Regions from separate parts of the Homo sapiens genome. Here region 2 is linked to region 1. Evidence: promoter capture Hi-C in 16 types of primary human blood cells and fetal thymus (Javierre and others, 2016). All regions are on one chromosome and are shown on one strand. Each heading gives the region's core, a stretch centred on a gene start or on the middle of the fragment in contact. The rest is flanking DNA. Distances are from core to core; before and after follow the strand shown. Region 1 holds the start of FBRSL1 (fibrosin like 1). Region 2 overlaps EP400 (E1A binding protein p400).

Region 1 (4,909 bases), core at 1,662-4,161:
GGTCCAACCTGCACCACACCAAGAAGTCAGTGGGAGTGTGGGGGGTGGGGTTCGTGCTGCAAGCTCTGCCCAGGGCCCTGGCAAGCCCCAGGGAGGTTCGGAGTCCTGGGTGGGATGTCCGGTCACTGTGATGCGTGCTCCCGGAGACACACAGCCCGGTCCGCAAGCAGGCAAGTACGCATCTGTCAGAAACCACCCCCAGAACCACCCCCAGAACCACCATCCCTCCCAAGGGCTTCCCATCCAGCACGTAGCCCAGCTGCTTTCTTCTGTAAGAGAAGGTTCCCAAAGCAAGCCCTCCCTGGGGAGCACCTGAGCCCAGAACTCCAGAGACGGCGGCTGGTCCCTGGGGAGCACCTGAGCCCAGAACTCCAGCATCGGCGGCTGGTCCCTGGGGAGCACTTGAGCCCAGAACTCCAGAGATGGCGGCTGGTCCCTGGTTGGCCATCTGGACACCTGGAAATGGATCAAAGGAGAGAAGGCACCTGGGGACGCCTTCCCCAGGACAGCCAGGGAAACCCGGGGGGGAGCCCAAAAAGGAAGCCCCTGAGGAGGTCTACAGAGCCCCTGCCCTTCACTGGGGTCACACATCTGAACATCTTCGGAGATCAGATAAACAAACAGTGTATGTCTATAATCAGAAACTTCAGGCTGGGCACAGTGGTTCACGCCTGTAATCCCAGCACTTTGGAAAGCTGAGGCGGGTAGATCACCTGAGGTCAGGAGTTCGAGACTAGCTTGGCCAACATGGCGAAACCCCATCTCTACTAAAAATACAAAACATTAGTCAGACATGGTGGCATAGGCCTGTAGTCCTGGGTACTCGGGAGGCTGAGACAAGAGAATGGCTTGAACCCGGGAGACGGAGGCTGCAGTGAGCCAAGATCACGCCACTGCACTCCAGTCTGGGTGACAAAGTGAGATCTGTCTCAAAAAAAAAAAAAGAAAAAGAAAAAGAGAAAGAAACTTCAAATCCAAAACCTCAGACCTTCCCAAGCAATTCTTCTGGGGGGGAGGGGGTGCCCACAGGATGCCCCTTGCAGTCTGACTGACCTCTGGGCCCAGCCTAGGGTGGGATGGCCTCTGGGAGCCTCGGGGAACAGGTGAGGACTCCCAGGCTACTTGGGAAGAGGCCTGTATTTAAACAAGAGCCTCAAATGCCACCTGGGTGACCCTCGCCCACATTTCCTGGCCTTCTGTCCAGGGAGGGGAATTCGGGAGCAGGCGTGCATGGAGAAACTACTCGGGGTCCGTTTCTGTCTTCCTAATGAGGCTTTTAAAAATCAAAAGGGAGGATGCTGGAGGGTGAAACCACGGTTTAACAAAACCCGGAATGGGAAGAGGGGGAGGGGGACCCTGCCCCCACCCTGGGGAGGCTTTGACAGGGAACCAGAGAGCGGGCTGGGTGGACTGGAGGAGGCTGGGTGAACAGGAAGTCCCCCCACCCCAGTGAGCTACTTTCCCAACTGCCTCAGCCCAGCAAACAGCCAGTGGTGCCTGGACCACACCCTTCCTGCCCTGCACAAGAGGCCGCCAGTAGGCTCTCCCAGAGGCAGGGTAAAGTGGACCCCGCAGAGTGGGCGAGGACCCGTTCCCACTAAGGGCAACCGAGGGCAGGGTCCCACCACTGTCTTGGGCACCCTCCCCTCCGCCCTCCAGCAAACCACCATTCTTCTCCGAGGGCCTGTGCAGGGGTGTAGCCCCGACCTGAAACAGGGTGCCCATGACTGCTGGGGCTCGGAGTCGTCACTCCTCGGGGAGGCCCTCTGGACCACCCAATGCCCACTCTCTGTGACACCTCCCCGTTCGATTTTCTTCAGATTATCCTTGGCTGATATTCTATTTGGCCCTGTGTTCAGGGTCTCTCTCCCACTTCTAAGAGGGTAGTCTATCTCAGCCGCTGCGGGGTCACCAACAGAGCCTGGACACAGGAGGCATCTGGCAAATACGCGCTGCATGAATCAATGACTCCAGTGCCCACGCGCAAGGGGCCCCTGGGCTCAGAAAACCCCACCAGGCGGGCCCCTCCGAGCTCGGCCTGTCCTGGGGGTGGAGGAGGAAGTTCGCCCCGCGCCTGCCTCGCAACCGCAGCCGCCTCCGTGCGCTTCCTGCCCGCGCCGCCCTCCACACTGCGCTCCGTGTCTGGCAGCAGCCCCCGCCTCGCTGGGCGCGTTCCCGGGGGTCTCGGTGGCGGGAGCCGCCTTCTTGTGGGACTTGGGGGCACGTGGCGCGGGGCGGGGACGCGGACAGACCCCTCCCGCATCCTAGGAGGCCTGGGAGGGTCCGCGGGGACGCGGGGAGGGGGCACCGCCTGGCCGAGGACCCTCCCCCGGTCCTCCCCGCCCCTTCCCCGTCCCTTCCACGCTCGCCGAGGGCAGGACTTCGGTTCCGCGAGACCGGAGGCCCCTCGTCCTCCTCGGAAGCCGCCCGCGGCCGGGGACCCCAGTCCCGCAGAGGAGGGCGGCGCTGCCCCCGCCTCCCGCTTGGAGAGCGCCGCCCGCAGGTGCCCACGGAGGGGCCGCGGCATCCCAGCGCCCTCCCAGGAAGGAGCCGAGCGGATCACCGCCGGCTGCAGCGGAGGTCGGGGCGCCGGGGAGGGGCGCGGCTAGGGGGCGAGGTCGAAGGGCGGGCACCTGCGGGTGGGGCGGGGCCTGAATTAGCGGGAGCGCCCGGGAGGGGCGGGGCCGGGGCCTGCGTGAGCGGGTCGGGGAGGGGGCGGAGCCTGCGGGGGGCGGGGCCTGCGTGAATGGGGCGGGGAGGGGCCGGAGCCTTGTGAGCGGGGCGGGCCGCGTGTGCGGGGTGGGGGCGGAGCCTTATGAGCGGGGCGGGGCAGGGGCGTGGTCGGGGCGGGGCGCGCGGGCGCCCGCGGCGGCCCTCACTTCCTCTGGCGAGCGCAGCCGGGCGGAAGTGCGTCAGTTGTTATCTGTTCGGGGCGCCGCCGCCGCCTCACGAGCCCGGTGCCCAGGAGCCCGGCCGCCTCCCGCCTGCCGCCTGCCGCGCCCGCCCGGCCCCGCCCGCTCGGCCCGATCGCCGCGCCGCGCGCATGGGGCGCGCCCCCGGGGGGGCGGCCGAGGGCCGCTGAGCGCCGGGCCCGCCCCCGCCGATGCGCCCAGCCGCCCGCGCCGGGGGTCCCAGGCCGCGCCGGGCCCGGGGCTGAGCCGCCCCCCGCGCCCGGCATGCCCGGCCCGGCCCGCCGCCCGCCGCCGCCCAGGGCCCGAGCCCGCGCGGCGCACACTCAGCCCGGCGGCGCCGCGTAGCCGAGGGAGCCCGCCTGCTGCGAGCCAGGCGCGGGGCGTCAAGGTCACCGGCCCGACGGGGCGCACGCGCGGCCATGGAGGCCAAGGTCCGCCCGAGCCGGCGCTCGCGCGCGCAGCGGGACCGTGGCCGGCGCCGGGAGGCCGCCCGCGACGCCCGCGCCCAGAGTCCGTCGTCGGGCGACGAGCCCGAGCCCAGCCCCGGCAAGGAGAACGCGGGCCTCCGCGGCGCGCCCCCCCGAGGCGCCGCCCCCGCGCCCCGCACCGCGCGTCCCCCGCGCCGCCGCCGCCGCGAGTCCAGCTCGCAGGAGGAGGAGGTCATCGACGGCTTCGCCATCGCCAGCTTCAGCACCCTGGAGGCCCTGGAGGTAGGTGGACGGGTGCGGCTTCGCAGGCGTTGAGGCGAGAACGGGGCCCGGAGTTGACGCGTCGGGCGATCCCGGGACCCCTGGGCTTGCGACCGCCCGCGCCGTGGGCAGCCCTGAGGGAAGCCCCGGCCACTTGGTACCCGTTCCAGGGACCCTGGGTGCCCACCGCTCGCCCAGACCGTCGCATCTGGAAGACCCAGCAGCGTCGGGTGGGTTTGGGGACGTTTTAAGTTGCAGAGGCAAAAAAATCTACGCTTCGAAATTGGGGGCTGTCTGACAGCACCGTCGGCCTTTTATCAGTTGTGTTTCTGTGGCCAGCATATCGCTCTGCCTGGTTCAGGACGTGCTAGGGAGCAGTGCTGGATCTTAGGGAGGTGGTGATAAAATGGATACTCCGCGGGCCATCCCGTTCCCTCCTCCCTTCGAGGGCTCTGCTGAGAAGGGGAGAAGGAGGGTTAATCTCAAGACCCCTCTTGGTGACTGCTGCCTGCTGCATGGTTAATAGATTGGCCAAAAATATTGCTTGTCTGGCTGACGGACAGTATTTGCTGAGCAAATACTGCTCCTCTTACATGAACTCAGCTGAGCAGAGAAGGAAATTAAATGCTGTCTGAGAGTTGGGGCAGGCGCTGTCTCCCCAGGACTGGCATGGGCAGGAATGCTAGCAAGTTGCCCTGCACCAGGGCCGAGACCCGCCCAGCGAGGTGTGCCCCGTGCAGCACTTACTTTGGGGGACCCTCATCTGCTGGACTTTGACTCCCAGAATCACCCCATTTCCAACCCCTCTCACTTTTCCAGGGGCTTGGGAGCCCATGGCCTGGGATCCCCCAGTCTCAGAAGCTGAGCTTTGGGAAAAGGGGAGATGCCTACTGCAGGCCCCTGAAGCAGCAAGTCCTCTTCAAGTTCTCATCCAAACTCTGGGGACTGTAGAGAGCCTTGGGTCAGGGCCGGTGGCCAGGGAAGTGGCCCCAGAACAGGTGCCGCATCGTGTCCCGAGTGCACAGTCAGAGCTGGGGCTTCGTGTCCCAAGTGCACGGACAGAGCTGGGGCTCCTGTGGGCCCAGGACGGGGTGGGTGGTGGCCAGGCTCATCACACAGGCTGGCCATCCTCTGTCCTGCACATTATTAGATGGCTCCAGGGCTGGCACACGCCATTGCTCTGTGCTGGGACGGGATGGCCCTGGGGCTGTCTTCTGCCCTCTCAGTGGTGATAATGACACAGACTGTACGTGTACTGAGCAATACTGCAAGCCAGGCCCTGCGCTCGGCTCCTGCACTGCAGCTGAG
Region 2 (4,909 bases), core at 1,004-3,503, 410 kb before region 1:
GAAAAATTATATATTTTCTTTCTGTTCTTTAAGTGGTTACCCTAAAATCTCCATGTGCACACTTCTGTATCAGAGTATGAAGTTAACGATGGCCTCCACCCTCTTCTCCAGCAATGATCTTATCACACAGTAGCTCAGTTTATTCATCTCAAATGCTGCTGTTAGTGTGCGTTTTAATTCTGTCCCTTTTCCTTTTTTTTTTTTTTGACACAGTCTTGCTCCATCGCCTAGGCTGGAGTGCAGTGGCGCGATCTTGGCTCACTGCAACTTCCGCCTCCTGTGTTCAAGCGAGTCTCCTGCCTCAGCCTCCTGAGTAGCTGGGATTACAGGCACATGCCACCAGGCCCAGCTAATTTTTGTATTTTTAGTAGAGATGGGTTTCACCATGTTGGCCAGGCTAGTCTCGAACTCCTGACCTCGTGATGCACCTGCCTTGGCCTCCCAAAGTGTTGGGATTATAGGCGTGAGCCACCATGCCCAGCCATAATTCTGTCCTTTTTCATCTTTGACTTTTTATGTGGAATTACTTTCCTTCCACTTGACCCATCCTTTGGAATTTCCTTTAGTGCTTGAAAATGCCTGTGTGTCACTCTTGTTCCTGAGAGACAGTTTTGCTTAGTACAGAATTCCGGATTGGCATTGTTTTTTGGGGTTTTTTTTTTTTTTTTTTTTTTTTTTTGAGACGGAGGCTCACTCTCCCATGCTGGAGTGCAGTGGCATGATCTTGGCTCACTGCAACTTCTGTCTCCCACATTCAAGAGATTCTCCCGCCTCAGCCTCCCGAGTAGCTGGGACTACAGGCACACACCACCATGCCCAGCTAATTTTTATATTTTTAGTAGAGGTGGGGTTTCACCATGTTGGCCAGACTGGTCTCGAACACCTGACCTCAGGTGATCCACCTGCCTCGGCCTCCCAAAGTGCTGGGATTACAGGCATGAGCCACCGCGCCCGGTCGGCATTGTTTTCTGAGTGCATTCACGGTATCATTTCCTCACTGTGGCTGCTTTTGTTGTTGAAGAGGAGCCGGTGTCTGTCCAGCGTTTCTCTCTTCCAGGGTCACCTGTCTCTTCCCCACCGACTGCCTGTTATTGAGACGTTGTCTTTGTCTTTGTTGTTTTGGGTCACCTCTCTCCCCCACCGTCTGCCTGTTACTGAGACGTTGTCTTTGTCTTTGTTGTTCTGGGTCACCTCTCTCCCCCACTGTCTGCCTGTTATCGAGACGTTGTCTTTGTCTTTGTTGTTTTGCAGTTTCATTCCAATGCTCCAGCTTCTTGAATCTCGGGCAGTCTCTCTCATGTCTTTAGGAAATAAGCAGCCACTGTTTGTTTACGTGTTGCCCCTGTCCTGCTTCCTCTGCCCTCCAGGTCTCTCAGCAGCTTTTGTATTTTCTGTGTCTTTGTCTCGTCGTACTATATTCTGAGTCATGTCTTTCGCTCTGTCTCCTCAGTCACTCATTTTTCCCTTGGTTAAGTCAAATCTGCTTCAAAGCTTGTCTGTTGAATTTTTATCTTGATGATTTATTATTTTATTTTCAGAAGTTCCCAAATAATGCCTGGTCTTTGTTTATAGTCTCTTGTTTCCAGGCCTCGCAGAGTGAGTGAGGTGTTTTTCTGGATCTGGTGATTTCCCTGTCTGAAATGTGCTGCATCTGCGGGGACCCCTCGCAGCCTGGGGCAAAGGTGGAGTTTTGCTTCCGCGGGCACCTTCAGGTGCCACAGGAACACTGCTTGGTGTGTGGCTCAGGCTTTCACTCAGCTCTCAGGTGTTACCCACCTGGCCTCTGAATCTGTGTCTCCTCCTCTCTCCTCCCCGGCACTGAGGCTTAGGGCAGGTGCTTTTCTTACAGATGCCACTGGAGGAAGGGGATGCTTTCTTTGCAGCCTTTGGGTACCTTTGTGGGTACAGTGTCTCCCTCCAGGATGGCAGCTGGCAGTAGCACGGGGCTCTTTTGCAAGCTCCCCACCGAGAACTGGCCTATACCTGGTGTCTGGTCAGCTGTGTCCTGTGCGACCCTGGAGATCACGGGGTGCGTCTCCATGTGGCCAGCGATCCCGGGCAGAGGTTGTGCAGCTTTTCTGCTCCGTGACTCGTGATGCCCGCCTGTGCTTAGGTTTGGAGACTGGCAGTTCCTGACTCTTTGCAGGTTTCTTGGTACATTTAAGATTTCTTGCTAGTGCTTTATTTAAGACGTCTCAGGATTTTCAGTGCTGTGCCAAGTAAGTCCTGGACCATTGTGGTCTTGAGATGGGCCCTGGAGCACCGGCTGCATCTTTGTTTCCCAGCAGTTCCACAGGGGGCGCTCAGGGCACTTATCTTAGTGAATTTTATTTATAATTGTTTAAGTGACAGTAAACTAGTAAATGCCTTCTGATTGATTTTAATTTTAGTAAGGACTAACATTTATTTCGACCTTTGTTCATGTGTGAGTAAATCATGTAATTTCACATATTTCGCAGAATAATCTTGGGAAATATTATTTTCATCCGTTTTCTGTAAGTAACAGGACCCAGCAAGAGACCAGGGTCCGTGAGGGCCTTGTGCAGGGAGGGCCCTTGAAATCAGGGCCCCCAGCAGCTGCCCACGCTGGAGCCTCTCTTGTGTTCTGGGTGCACGCCATGACGGTGCTGATAGGACACACAGGTGGCCCAGAGCCTCTTACTACGTCAAGACAGCGGGAGATGCATGCAGTAGCAAGTGCACAGAAAGTGGGCACTGGGTGGAAAGTGTTGCTTTATAAATAGCCAGATCTCAATCATGACTAAGAAGAATGTAGAAAAATGATAAAATTACCAGCCTCAAAACCTTGGTGCGTCACCGGGTTCCCCACTTCAGCTGGCTGCCCTAGCTGCACTGTACAGCTCATTACTGGAACGTCGTCCAGGCCTGTCATATGCAGAGCCCTTGGGACTCACAAGACGCTCAAATACTTACCATCCTCAGTCTGATTCTTTCATATAAACTTGCAGTCGTTTTTGTGAAAAGAAAAAATGTGTCTGAAATATGAGACCAAAAATAAGCTTAAATGATGAGTGATGGCAAATTGGGGAGGCAGTCAGTTGACTCACCATGCAGTGGAACGACTTGCTCTCTCACTGCTGCAGGTGGGCACACTACGAGAATTGCTCTTCTGTGTCACCTGGTCATTGTGTTTTTTGCATTAACTGAGGACAGAAAGGGAGGAAAAATCTCTTTTTGTGCACATACTCCTTTGAATTGTATGTTTGGCTTTTTTTGTTTTGTCAAAGGTTGCAAAACTTCCTCAAGTTGTTCAACAGCAAACACCCGTGGCCAGCATCCAGCAAGTTGCCTCTGCTTCCCAGCAGGTAGGACGCATAGACAAAGTGGAAACCTCACATTTCCCAGGTCAGAGAATGGGTTGTTTTCATCTGAGGTCATGATTAGGGAATCACTTTTGATTTTTGTGATACACACAAAAACATTAACTTCAGGGGAAAAACTAGATACACTTAATAATGAGAAGAGTGAACAAGCGTTTAGAGGTTGTGTCAGCCATACTGAGGGAGCCTCACCTTGGGCTCATTCCCAGGACCCTTCATTCACTGATCATCGCGGGTGTGTCCTGCAAGTCGCAGACACTGCCCTGTGGTTTTAGGGAGGCACAGGCCTCAGGCAAGCAGGCTCCGCTCGGGGCCCGCCCTTGAGCAGAGGCGCTGTGGGCACAGTGGCCTTGCCTCCCACAGAAGCCCTTCAGGCGCTTTCACTGTTGTCACTGATGCTCCACAATATGACTCTTTAGCACAGTGCTTTAAATGTAAAGCGGTGCTTTAAACTTTCTAAATTTTGTTTAAAGTCACACTGGCATATAGATTTCAAGAAACCAAACTCTATTAAAAGCTTTACTACAACAACAAAATCAGTCCCTGACCCAGCTCTCACCCTTTTCCCAAGAGGCATCTGGTGTTAGTCTAAAAGCAACCATCTTTTAATTTTCCACTTGTGTTTAATTGGAAACCAGAGGTCATACTGTTGTGTGACTGGTCATTCTTCCGTGTCATAAAAGCATAGTCAGTGAAGTTTCTCGAGTCCTCCCCATCCCAAAGAACGTCCATTTTCCTGTCCCTGGACTGAGTTTCCTGGGCAATGTGTGTTTTCTGACTCTCTCGGCTCAGGCTTCTCCACAGACTGTGGCGCTCACGCAGGCGACGGCGGCCGGGCAGCAGGTGCAGATGATCCCTGCAGTGACCGCGACTGCCCAGGTGGTTCAGCAGAAACTCATTCAGCAGCAGGTGGTGACCACGGCGTCGGCCCCGCTCCAGACTCCAGGCGCTCCCAACCCAGCCCAGGTGCCCGCCAGCTCCGACAGCCCAAGCCAGCAGCCCAAGTTACAGATGAGGGTCCCTGCTGTCAGGCTAAAGACACCTACTAAGCCTCCGTGCCAGTAGTCAGGGCAGCAGGGCTGCCTCTCATCTAAAGCAAAACTACCTTCCTCACAGAAAACGCTTTATTAGTGAACCTTGGGACCATGTCACGCAAGAGATTCAGCACTGGGAAAGATATAATTGAAACAAAATAGTGTAATCATTTTATTAAAATGCATCCCACACTGCAGGACAAATGGTCCTTATGGAGTGCCGCGTTCTCTGTACTACGTGGCTCATGGAAAAAGTGACAACATGGCTTCCTCTAAATCATTTCACCTTTCAGTCCCCACCCGCACCCGTCCCCTAGAGCCATAGTACTGTGTTCTGAAAGCCATTTAGAATTTCTTTGTGAGCATGTAGTGCTTTGCACGCCACAGAAGCCGTCTGCCGTGTGTGAGGAGCATACAATGGACTTTCTAAAGATAAGGCGTGGGCTTCCACAGTGTCTGCCAGAGTTTAGTTCTTTATACCTTACTGAAAAATGCCTCGTGGTCTTCGCAGAGGGGAAGGCCTGTCTAAAGTCA

Evidence for each region. Contacts are between HindIII fragments. The CHiCAGO score rates a contact against its expected background, and 5 or more counts as called.
Region 2: a contact is called between a fragment that was not itself captured here and the fragment with the promoter of FBRSL1 in region 1, in 1 of 17 cell types (total B cells). The highest score is 5.1, in total B cells.

What each region holds. Positions count from the first base shown.
Region 1 is chr12:132,487,240-132,492,148 of GRCh38, forward strand. FBRSL1 (fibrosin like 1) reads left to right here and starts at 2,912. Exons shown (of 19, transcript NM_001367871.1): 1 at 2,912-3,622. The coding sequence starts at 3,332. RefSeq lists enhancers at 1,873-2,002, 4,000-4,563 and silencers at 2,193-2,262, 2,393-2,842. The HindIII fragment of the contact is 10,018 bases long and covers 1-4,909 here.
Region 2 is chr12:132,073,268-132,078,176 of GRCh38, forward strand. EP400 (E1A binding protein p400) reads left to right here. Exons shown (of 53, transcript NM_015409.5): 52 at 3,249-3,326; 53 at 4,134-4,909. The coding sequence ends at 4,406. Among named protein-coding and RNA genes, the nearest start is that of SNORA49, 44 kb to the left of the region's middle. The HindIII fragment of the contact is 1,529 bases long and covers 1,490-3,018 here.